Regions from separate parts of the Homo sapiens genome. Here regions 2, 3 and 4 are each linked to region 1. The links are contacts of gene promoters, found by promoter capture Hi-C in human tissues and cell types (Jung and others, 2019). All regions are on one chromosome and are shown on one strand. The core of a region is centred on a gene start or on the middle of the fragment in contact, and the rest is flanking DNA. Distances in the headings are between cores, read along the strand shown. Region 1 holds the start of LIMK1 (LIM domain kinase 1). Region 2 overlaps GTF2IRD1 (GTF2I repeat domain containing 1). Region 3 holds the start of GTF2IRD1 (GTF2I repeat domain containing 1). Region 4 has its middle 16 kb from the start of GTF2IRD1.

Region 1 (2,763 bases), core at 154-2,653:
GGGCTGCAGACCTGGGTACTCCCAGACACCTGTCCCAGGGAGGCCTGGCACCTCCTCTAGCCAGCCACAGGCATGCTTAGTCATCCTTGGGGCCTGGCACCCTTGGAGCTGGTGGGCCCTGGAAAATGCCCCAGACCTGCCCCTCTCCACTGTACAGAAGGGGAGACTGAGCCCCAGAGATGGCATGGCTTGCCCAGTCACATAGCTAGGTCCCAAGGCCACAACAGCCTGACCCTCTGTGAAGACGCAGGTACCTTAGGTAGGCAGGGGCTACAGGAAGGTGGGCCCCTACCCCAATCAGGTTTTCATGGGCCTGGGAAGAGTTGGTGGCAGGGGGAGGTGTGGAGTCAGGCCCTGCCTTGGGGCCAGGTGGATCTAAGTGACAGGTCAGCGAAGGAGATCCAAGGAGGGGCCCCCAGACCCTGTCCTAGGCTGGGGGAGTCCTTGAACCCTAACTGCAGTGCAGTACTGCGCCTTGGGCCCCAGTGAGGGAGAAGGGGCTAAAGAGGAGGTTAGGATGAGTCATGCTCCCAGCCAAGACTGAGGGCAGGCACCGGGTTTGGGGCACGGACAGGGAGAGTGGATGAGGCTCCCGCAGTACACGGCCTCCGGCTTCCTGGACGCCTATCTCCGCTCTACCCATCTGGCCCCCAATCACCGACACCGGGGGGGCAACTACCCAGTTTCCAAATGTACAGAAGGGGAAACTGAGGACCAGGAAGTCAGCGCCTGGCTCAAGGTCACAGAGCCGGGCAGGCGCCCGGCGGCCACTGGGACCCGGGGCTGCGGCTTCCCCAGCCGCTCTTTCTTCCGAGACTGGATAAAGGGTGGCCCCAGGGCGAGGCCCGGGTGGTGGACAGAGCACGCGGATGGAGGCCGACGCGGGGTGGGCAGTGTCTGGGAGTCCTTCGCGGGGGGACGTGGGAGGAGGAAAAAGGGTCCAGGGGCCCCCAGACCCGCAGGAGGGCAGCTCGCCGGGGGCCGGGGAGGGGGATCCCGGGCGGGAGGGGGACAGGGAGGGGCCTGCGGGCTTCGTAAGGACGAGCTCATCCCGGAGGAGGCAGGGGCGCGGCCTCCTGGCAGACCCGGCCCCCTCCCGTGCCCCACGCTGCCCCGGGCACCCCCTCCAGGCCCTCGCCCCACACCCCGCGGCCCGCGCACCTTCCTCTCCCATACGTTCTTCCCTCCAGGTGCAACAAAGTAGCGTCAACCTCATGCACTCGACGGGGGGCGGGGCCCGGCGGGGCTGGGGCTGGGGGCGGCCGGGCCCGCGAGCTCGCCCACCGCCGCCGGCCCGGGGAGGCGGGGGCGGAGGGCGCGGGCCGGGCCGGGCCGGGCCGGGGGCGCCTCTCGGACACCGGCGGGGAAACCGGCTCGGCGCCGCGGCGGCTTGGGGAGCGAGCGGAGGGGCGGACCGAGGCGGGGCCTGTGAGCTGCGGCACGGGGGCGGGGCGCGGGCGGCCGGCGGCGGGAACGGCCCTGCGCGGCCCCGCCCCCACCAGAAAACCCCGCCCCCACGCCCAAGGCCACGCCTCTAGAGGCCACGCCCCGCTGCGGCCCGGCCTGGGGGCGCCGCGAGCTGGCGCGGCGCGCCCCGCCCCTCCCCGCCCCTTCCGCCCTTCATTCATTCTTCTTTCTCCCAGCGACAGGCCTCGGCTGGGAGCTGCGAGGCCCAGCTGTCTCGGAGGGCCGCTAGCTCTGCTGGGGCAGGCCAGGAGGATGTAGGAGCCTAGAGAAGGGGCCTCCGCTTCCCTGCGCGAGGCCCCCACAGACCCAAACCAGCTGCAGCCGGGAACTCGGATCAGAGCTGGAGAGGCCCTGTGGACCCCCAGGACACTGGTGGTCGCCTTGGGGAGGGGAGGGAGGCGGGCCGGGTTTTGTCCCTCTCTCTGAGGCCTGCATTGAGGCCAGGCTGGGCCCGGGGAAGGTGACGGTCCGCGTCTCAGGCCTCGCGAATGAGCAGCACCAGAGAAAGGAGCGAGCCCCTGCCAGGCGGTGACAGGTGTACTCTTCTCAGTGCCGATTACCTGGAGCTGGGGCTGCCCTGCCCAGGGTCCTGGAGGGAGCACGGGTTTGGGCTGAGTCAAGCGTCCAAAGGAATTGGGTGGTCCAGTCCAGCACTGATGGTGGAACGCCCTGCCTAGATGTGGACAATTCTAGAATGCTGGACATGGGCAGGAAGCAACCCTGTCCCCCCTAGGTCTACCTTCCACGTCATCCCTCTGCCCAGGAAGCAGTGACCGGAGTGGAGCCACGTGCCCACGTGAACCCAGTGAACAAGAGGCAGCGCTAGCCCAGCTCCAACTCTAGTCATCATGTTTGTGGGGAGAGGTCTAGGCACGTCTGCAAAGTGGGGGGCACTCACCCCTGGGTGCAAAACAATTACGTGGGGTGGGAAGAAAATACTAGATTTTTTTTTTCTTTTTTTAGATTCGGTCTCGCTCTGTTGCCTAGGCTGGAGTGCAGTGGCGGGATCTCGGCTCACCGCAGTCTCCACCTCCCAGGTTCAAGCAATTCTCCCACCTTAGCCTCCCGAGTAGCTGATATTACAGGCGTGCACCACCATGACCGACTAATTTTTGTATTTTTAGTAGAGATGAGGTTTCACCATGTTGACCAGGCTGGTCCTGAACTCCTGACCTCAGGTGATCCACCCTCCTCGGCTTCCCAAAGTGCTGGGATTACAGGTGTGAGCCACCACGCCTGGCCAGAATTTTTAATTTCTCATGAGAAAGAAGGCTGGGCACAGTGGCTCACACCTAT
Region 2 (2,763 bases), core at 190-2,689, 500 kb before region 1:
GGTTAATTTTTGTATATTTAGTAGAGATGGGGTTTTGCCATATTGGCCAGGGTGGTCTCAAACTCCTGAGCTCAGGTGATCTGCCTGCCTCGGTCTCCCAAAGTGCTGGGATTACAGGCGTGAGCCACTGTGCCCAGCCTGACTCCTGTTTTTTGAGACAGGGTCTCACCCTGTTTCCCAGGTTGGAGTACAGTGGTGCCATCATAGCTCACTGCAGCCTTGAACTCTTTGGCTCAAGCAATCCTCCCCACTCAGCCTCTCAAGTAGCTGGGGCTCCAGGCATGAATCACCATGCCAGACTAAGTTTTTTTAAAATTTTTTGTAGAGAGAGTCTCTCTCTGTTGCACAGGCTGTTCTCGAACTCCTAAGCTCAAGCGATCCTCCTGTCCGCAGCCTCCGAAAGTGCTGGGATTACAGTTGTGAGCCACTGTGTCTGGCTCTTTTAATCTTGAAAACTCTGGGAAGAGCTCACTTCTGTTTAGGAGGCTGCCTTGGGAACTGCATCTCCTGGCGTGGTGCTCTGTGCTGCTTAGAGTCTGCTGACCCCGTCTGGGTGGCTTGGCCTCCCGTGCGCAAGCTGCCAGAATGGAGGCCCTGTTCCCCATGTGGGGGTTGCCCCAAAGAGCAGGGAGCTTCCCACAGGACAGAGGCTGGGCACCTGCTTGGCCTGGTTCCTCCTTTTCCCAGGGCTCCAACACCCACCACCTCAGGTCCTCCCAAACCCTGCAGGTCCCTGGCCTGGTCCGTCCACACCCACACTCAGCAATCTCTGCACATCTCTGAGTTGCTGATCTGTCTTCAGGCACGGCCCGCCAGCCCCCCTGCGTGCCCAGAGACACTGCAAACATCAGCCATTCCAGACAACGTCCTCCTCCCGTGTCCCTATCTCGTGGAGTAATGCCTCTAATTCAGCCACACAAAGACCCCACGCTCCACATCCCCTAGAACCCTCGTCTTCTCCTGTGACCCAACACGGGCCTTCCTTTCAGGACTAGGATGTGGGAAGAATCAAGGCCACCCTTGTCCAAATCCATGCAGACAACAGTGATGGAGTCCTGGGCCCAAGGACCAGCTCCTAGAGCCTGCAGGGAAGCAACAGCACATTCCATCTGTCCCCATGCCACTGAGGAATCTTTGGTGGCAGGATTCTCAGCAGGCATGGCCATGCATGCACAGAACAGAGAAAGGATGGCCTGGATCACACACATCACTGTGTGCAGATGCTTTCCTAGACACTGCAGCCAAAGACACAGAGGCTCAGAGAGGTAAAGAAACTTGCCCAAGGTCACACAGCCTCTAAGCACCAGGAGTACTCTGTGTCAACCCCAAAGCCCTGGTCTTTCCACTCTACCATGAGCCCTGGGTTTCCTGAGGTCTCAGATTCCTCTACAGTTTCTTTCTTTTTCTTTTTTTTTTTGGAAGAGTCTTGCTCTGTCACCCAGGCTGGACTGGAGTGCAGTGGTGCGATCTTGGCTCACTGCAACCTCTGCCTGCTGGGTTCAAGTGATTCTCCTGCCTCAGCCTCTCGAGTATCTGGGATTACAGGCACCCACCATCACACCTGGCTGATTTTTGTATTTTTAGTAGAGATGGGGTTTCACCATGTTACTCAGGCTGGTCTCCAACTCCTGGCCTCAGGTGATTCGCCCACCTCGGCCTCCCAAAGTGCTGGGATTACAGACGTGAACCACCATGCCCAGGCTCCCCTACAGTAGCTGTAGAAAGAAGGCTTAATCTTTAAGATAGTTTCCTCTAATCTGTTGCTCTCAGCCCACAATGCCACACCTCTGTCTTCTCCTGTGTCGGGACAGAGCGAGACTCAAAGTCAGAGCTCTACGAAACCTGCAGGACAGAAAGAAGCTTAGCAGGCCTCTCAAAGACGAGGCCCAGACCGGGCACGGTGACTCACGCCTATAATCCCAGCACTCTCAGAGGCCGAGGCAGGTGGATCACTTGAGGTCAGGAGTTCCAGACCAGCCTGGCCAACATGGTGAAACCCCGTCTCTACTAAAAATACAAAAAATTAGCTGGGCGTGGTGGTGCATGCCTGTAATCCCAGTTACTCAGGAGGCTGAAGCAGGAGAATCCCTTGAACTGGGAGGTGGAGGTTGCAGTGAGCTGAGATTGCGCCACTGCACTCCAGCCTAGGCGACAGAGCAAGACTCCGTCTCAAAAAAAAAAAAAAAAAAAACACCAAACAGGCTGGGCGCGGTGGCTCACATCTGTAATCCCAGCACTTTGGGAGGCCGAGGTGGGTGGATCACCTGAGCTCAGAAGTTCGAGACCAGCCTGTCCAACGTGGTGAAACCCCGTCTCAACTAAAAGTACAAAATTTAGCCAGGCGTGGTGGCAGGTGCCTGTAATCCCAGCTACTCCGGGGGCGGAGGCAGGAGAATCGCTTAAACCTGGGAGGCGGAGGTTACAGAGAGCCAAGATCGCGCCATCGTACTCCAGCCTGGGGGACAAGAGCGAGACTTCATCTCAAAACAACAACAACACACAAAAAACCCAAACAAACAAAAAACATGGGACCCCAAACTTACTATGCCAAAGGGAAATGTTAAGCTTGGGAACTGAGTCACGCAATAGCCTTTTGTTCCTAAACAGATGGCTGCAAGATAGAAGGCCACCTAGCTCCCCTGGTGGCCTCCCTCACCCTGGCCATGTAAATTCACAGCTTATCTTCACAGGCAGGGGACAAAGATAAGAATAGAAATCATTGCTCTGTCTACCCAAGACAAATGCCTATATGACTTCCTCTAC
Region 3 (2,763 bases), core at 1-2,500, 370 kb before region 1:
GGATGGGGACACAGGAGACTCCCACCGCAGGACCTTGGTCCTGGGAGGTAGGGTCACTAGGCCAGACGCCAGAGCTCCAGCCCCCTCCAGCACTGCCAGGAGGGTGGAACGAACTCTCAGCGGCACAGCGGCCCCCTTCCCTGGGCCCACGCCAGGCGAGGCAGGGTCTCACTCCCTGGCTGCTGGCCAGGGGTGAGGAGCCCAGGAGAGGTGTCAAGCCCATCATGCCCAGGGTACTTAGGATGGGGCGGGTGGGTGTTCAGCACCCTGTGGCCCCTCCTCTGTCCTCTCCACCCATCTGCAGGAACTCAGAGACCACCCACAGACCGAGTATCCCCAACTTACTCCTCTGAACCCTTTGTGGTCCCCCCACTGCCACCTTCTGAGTCCCCTCCACCCGGGATTCAGCGGCCACCACCACACAGGCCAGCCCCCTCCCCGGGGCCGGGGCGGGGGGTCCACTACAGGAACCACCCTGCTGGGGCAATCCTGGCTGGACTGGACTCCGCCTGGGAGTTGGGGGCGCGGGCCAGGGGCTGGCCCAGACCGGGAGAAGGTGGAGGGGGGAAAGGCGGGGACCGCGGCCTTCCCAGCCCCCTCTGCTCCCACCCCGGCGCCCGCCACCGCGGGCAGCGCGACTGACCTCATTCGCCAACTGCAGCAGCCTGCGGGCGCCGGCCCGGGACGCCCCCCACCTCCAGAAGAGCCGGTGGCAAGGAGGGAGGGGGTGACAGCTCCCAGCTCCCGGCCCCTCCCGGGCAGGTGGGGGGCGGCCGTCCCTCCCCTCCCCCCGGGCCCGAATTATAATCCCAGTCACGTGCCTCCCCGGGCACCCAAAAGCCGGCCCCAGCTCCTGTAACACCTTGAGAGGGGGAGGGGCGGGGACCCCCCCCCCCGGAGGCGGAGGGGATCGGGGGCGGGGGTGGGGGAGAAGGGGAGAAGGGCCTCGGTGCCCGCCCCCCGCAAAAGTTTCTCCTACCTTGGAGGATCCCCAAGCGCTCCTGCCAGCGGCGCCCCGGCCCCGGCCCGCGGCCAGGACTCAGCCTCCTGCCGCTGCCTCCTTAATTAATCCGGGAGAATGGGGGAAGGAGAGGCAGAGGGAGGCGAGGACGGCGGCGCGGCGAGGGCGGGGAGGGAGGCGCGGGGAGGGGGCGCGGGGGGGGAATCGGCCGGCCGGGGGGCTGGCGCTCGGCGGCCCCCACCCCCGGCGCGGGCTGCGGCGGAGGGCGGGGCGGCGCGGGGAGAGGAGCGGAGAGCGGGAGCGCGGGGAGGCTCTTTGTTCTGTAATCCCAGTAAGATTGCCAGCCATTCGCCCCGGCCCTAATCCCAGCCCCGCGCAACACCACCCTCCATTGGCTGCCATTTACATACGGGATTAGCCCGCCCCGCGCCCCGCGCCCCTGCGCACCCCCCTTGCTACCCAGCGCCCCTGCGTCCCGGGGACCTGGGCACCGCGGTGGGGAGAGCGCGCCGCACCCCTCGGCCCCGGACCTGCGGGGAGGGGCGGTGGCGCCCTCGGTTCTCCCCCACCAGCGCCGGATTAGAAAAGCCTGGGCGCGCCCCCGTCTACCCCCACCGCTCCCCACCACCACTGGGAGAGCAGCCGGGCGCAGGGGGCTGAAGTTGGAGGGTCAAGGTCACCCAGCTGGAACGCGCGGAGGCCCTGAGTGTCCCGGCTGGTCACTCCCGCCTGGCCCGGGTTCTAGTCCTAAGGCTTGGGCCAGGTACCTCTTACTCTTACAGCCTTTGTCCCCCTCCCACCCCTGAGATGTGCAGGAAGGCAGTGACAGGCCGAAAGTCGCAGCAGAGCCAACTGGACTCTTGGTCCCATCTTGTCTGATGGGACCTCCCTCTGATAGGCTTTTACCCCTGTCCCCCCAACCAGCCCCCCCGCCCCCCGCCCGCCCCGCTCCCACCAACCACACACACACCACAGCAGCGCTCCTACTGAATCAGTGCGCACGCCTCCCATCCGGCCCCAAAGCCATAAATCCTAATTCAGCACAAGGAACACAGTCCTTCCCCCACGTGGTGCCCTGATCCCTGAACTAGACCTTGGCTAGACTGGGCATGGCAGGGAGGGAGGGACTCACCCCAGGCAGGCCCCAACCCCAGGGAGCTTCTGGCTTAGAAGGACAGCCAAACATAGATCGAGAATCTCCCAGGTCCTGGCAAAACCCACAAGGTCTCCCCACAGCCTCCTGGCCAAACTGCCTTTGCAAAGATTAGGACAGTGACAGAAGTTTAGCGTGGCTGACTCCATCTTGCTTCCAGCCTCACGCGCTGGCTGTCTTCACTCATTCCGGGGCATAGGCCAAGCTAACCGGGGGAGGAATTTAGTTTATAGTTCAACTTTGAAACAAGGATGATAATAGTTACTCCTTAAACCTAACCTGCTTTTTATACAAGAGACCAAAACCACCTTTGTAAAACTAACGAAAGGCCGTGAGATTAGGATTATGGGAGGGGCCTGGACGCTGCTAAAACCTACGCATCGTTTTTATAATCTGACTGCTCAGGAGTCATGTGGCGAGAGATCACAAGATTTGTGAGTTCCCCACTTCCTCCTATAGATAGCATCTCTATTGTGGAAACTGAGATTGGTCTTTGGAGATGTTTTTCAGACTTTCGCATTCGGGCAACCGACTGACTCACCTGGACCTGTGTGACTCATGACTCAGCCCATCCTGTGGCCCCCACTCAGAGACCGACTCAGTGCATAAGGACCGTTTGCCACACCCCTGTGATTTCATCTCCAACCAA
Region 4 (2,763 bases), core at 194-2,693, 350 kb before region 1:
GTGAGCCACCATGCCCGGCTCAATAGATTTTTATTGGTTAAATGAGGGGTGGTGTGTGGGCCTATCTACGGCCTTGCTATGATGTGAATGATGGTATCCCCTCCAGAATTCATGTTGAACATCTCCATTGTAGTGGTATTAGGAGGTGGGGCCTTTTGGGGTAAGTGATTGAGAGCTTTATCCTTGTGAACTCATGAGGGCTCTACCCTTGTGAATGAATTAGTGCCTTACAAAGGGGCTGGAAAGAACTAGTGTAGGCCCTTTATTGCCCGTCCAGCTCTTCTGCTATGTGAGGACATGGTGTTCAAGGCACCATCTTAGAAGAAAAGACTGGGGCCCTCCCCAGACACTAAACCTGCTGGTGCCTTAATCTTTGCATTCCCAGCTTGCAGACTATTAGAAATAAATTTCTATTATTTATATAGATTATCCAGTCTCAGGTATTTTATTATAGCAGCACAAACAGAGTGAGACAGGAATTGGTACCAGGAGTCGGGTGTTTGTATAACCAAAAACTAAAAATGTGAAAGCAGCTTTGAAACTGACTAATAGGTAGAGGCTGGTCTGTAAAGGGCTATTCTGGTGAAGGCTCAGAAGAAAAGGAAAGCTGCAGGGACAGCCTTAATGTTTTTAGAGATTACGTATGTGGTCATAATCAGAAGGTGGTAAAAATGTGGATGGTAAAGGCAATTCTGATGAGGTCTTAAACAGAAATGAGAAATATTTTATTGGAAACCAGAGAAAAGGTCATCCTTGTTACAAAATGGCAAAGAACTTAGCTGAATTTTGTTCATGTCCTACTACTTTGTGGAAAGTAGAATTTAAGAGTGATGAACTAATATATTTGTTGGAGGAAATCTCTGAGCAAAGTGTTCAGGGTGCTACATGGTTGCTCTTAACTGCTGATAGTAAAATGCAACAAGAGAGGGATTAACTAAAGACAGAATTTATAATAAAAAGGGAGGCAGAATAAAGATTTGAAAAATTCTCAGACTGGCCAGGTTGTAAAAGTGTGTTTAAGACAAAATACCCGGTGGCTCACGCCTGTAATCTCAGCACTTTGGGAGGCTGAGGCGGATGGATCATGAGGTCAGGAGTTTGAGACCAGCCTGACCAACATAGTGAAACCCCGTCTCTACCAAAAATAGAAAAATTAGCCAGGTGTGATGGTGTGCGCCTCTAATCCCAGCTACTCAGGAGGCCGAGGCAGGAGAAACGCTTGAACCCGGGAGGCAGAGGTTGCAGTGAGCTGAGATCACGCCATCACACTCCAGCCTGGATGACAGAGTGAGACTCCATCTCAAAAAAAAAAAAAAAAAAAAAAAAAAAAAAGGGAGAGAGAGAAAAAATACCAAGGGTAATAAGAAGATTAATAAGAGGCCGAGCACGGTGGCTCACACCTGTAATCCCAGCACTTTGGGAGGCCAAGGCAGGTGGATCACTTGAGCCCAGGAGTTTGAGACCAGCCTGGGCAACATGGCAAAACTCTGTCTCCACTAAAAATACAAAAATTAGCAGGGTGTGGTGGCTCATGCCTGTAATCCCAGCTACTCAGGAGGCTGAGGCACAAGAATTGCTTCAGCCTGGGAGGTGGAGGTTGCAGTGAGCCAAGATTGCACCACTACACTCCAGCCTAGGCAACAGAGTGAGACTCTGTCTCAAAAAAAAAAAAAATTATCCAGGTGTGGTGGCACACGCCTATAGTGCCACCTGCTCTGGAGGCTGAGCTGGGAGGATTGCTTGAGCCCAGGATTTCAAGACCAGCTTGGGCAACATGGTGTGACTTCACCTCTACCAAAAAAAAAAAATTTAGTTGGGCATGGTGGCATGTTCTTGTGGTCTCAGCCACTCGAGGCCAGGGGATTACTTAAGCCCAGGAGGCTGAGTCTGCAGTGAGCTATGCTAGCACCACTGCAATCCAGCCTGGGCGACAGAGCAGGAAAATTTAATGTTGTTTGCCCTGTTGGGTTTGGGACTTACTTAGGATCTATTATCCTTTCCTTCTTTCCTTATTCTATTTTTTTTTTCAATCCTTTCCTTCTTTCCTACTTCCCCCTTTCGGAATGGAAACATCTGTCCTGTACCTGGCCCACTGTTGTCTTTTGGAAGCACTTTACTTGTTTGATTTCATAGACTCAGCAGGAGGCATATTGATGCCTCAGGATGAAACACACCCTAGAGTCTTACCCATATCTGAGGTAGATAATATTTAGATGAGACTTTGGACTTGGACTTTAAAGTTGATGCTAGAATCAGTTAAGGCTTTTCAGGGCTACTGGGATAAAATGAGTAGTATGTTTGTTTGTTTGTTTTGTTTTGTTTTGAGACAAGGTCTTACTCTGTTGCCCAGGTTAAAGTGCAGTGGCGCAATTGTGGCTCACTGCAGCCTCGACTTCCTGGGCTTAGGTGATCCTCCCACCTTGGCCTCCCAAAGTGCTGGGATTACAGACGTGAGCCATTGTGCCTGGCTGGAATGAATGTATGTCATATGTGAACGTGAAAAGGACATGAGTTTTGGGGGCCCAGGAGCAGAATGCTATGATTTCAATGATGATGTCTCTTCCAAAATTCATGTTGAGACTTACTCATTGTGGTGGTGGTATTGAGAGGTGGGGTCTTTTTGGGAAGTAATTAGGTCATGAGAGCATGAGCCTACAGATTGGTGCCTTATAAAAGGGCTGGAGGGAACTAGCTTAGGACCCTTTGCCTTTCCACCTTCTGCCATGTGTGAGCAGAGTTCATCCCCCACGCAGGATGCAGCCA

Evidence for each region. The method cuts DNA at HindIII sites, captures the fragments that hold promoters and counts their contacts. A contact is called where the count stands out against the background at its distance.
Region 2: a contact is called between a fragment that was not itself captured here and the fragment with the promoter of LIMK1 in region 1, in 4 of the 25 tissues and cell types used here (bladder, liver, lymphoblastoid cells and 1 more).
Region 3: the fragment with the promoter of GTF2IRD1 here is called in contact with the fragment with the promoter of LIMK1 in region 1 in 1 of the 25 tissues and cell types used here (stomach).
Region 4: a contact is called between a fragment that was not itself captured here and the fragment with the promoter of LIMK1 in region 1, in 2 of the 25 tissues and cell types used here (mesenchymal stem cells and spleen).

What each region holds. Positions count from the first base shown.
Region 1 is chr7:74,082,444-74,085,206 of GRCh38, reverse strand. It overlaps LIMK1 (LIM domain kinase 1), which reads right to left and starts at 1,403. Exons shown (of 16, transcript NM_002314.4): 1 at 1,162-1,403. The coding sequence starts at 1,216. RefSeq lists enhancers at 1-78, 590-859, 1,346-2,024, 1,920-2,029, 2,025-2,703 and silencers at 1,050-1,099, 1,210-1,259, 1,380-1,649. The HindIII fragment of the contact is 14,309 bases long and covers 1-2,763 here.
Region 2 is chr7:74,584,539-74,587,301 of GRCh38, reverse strand. The region is part of intron 22 of GTF2IRD1 (GTF2I repeat domain containing 1); the gene reads right to left. Among named protein-coding and RNA genes, the nearest start is that of MIR10525, 10 kb to the left of the region's middle. RefSeq lists an enhancer at 1-102. The HindIII fragment of the contact is 6,527 bases long and covers 1-2,763 here.
Region 3 is chr7:74,452,393-74,455,155 of GRCh38, reverse strand. It overlaps GTF2IRD1 (GTF2I repeat domain containing 1), which reads right to left and starts at 1,250. Exons shown (of 27, transcript NM_005685.4): 1 at 980-1,250. RefSeq lists silencers at 628-697, 1,200-1,549 and an enhancer at 2,435-2,763. The HindIII fragment of the contact is 14,749 bases long and covers 1-2,763 here.
Region 4 is chr7:74,436,299-74,439,061 of GRCh38, reverse strand. No RefSeq gene overlaps it. Among named protein-coding and RNA genes, the nearest start is that of GTF2IRD1, 16 kb to the left of the region's middle. The HindIII fragment of the contact is 4,196 bases long and covers 1-2,763 here.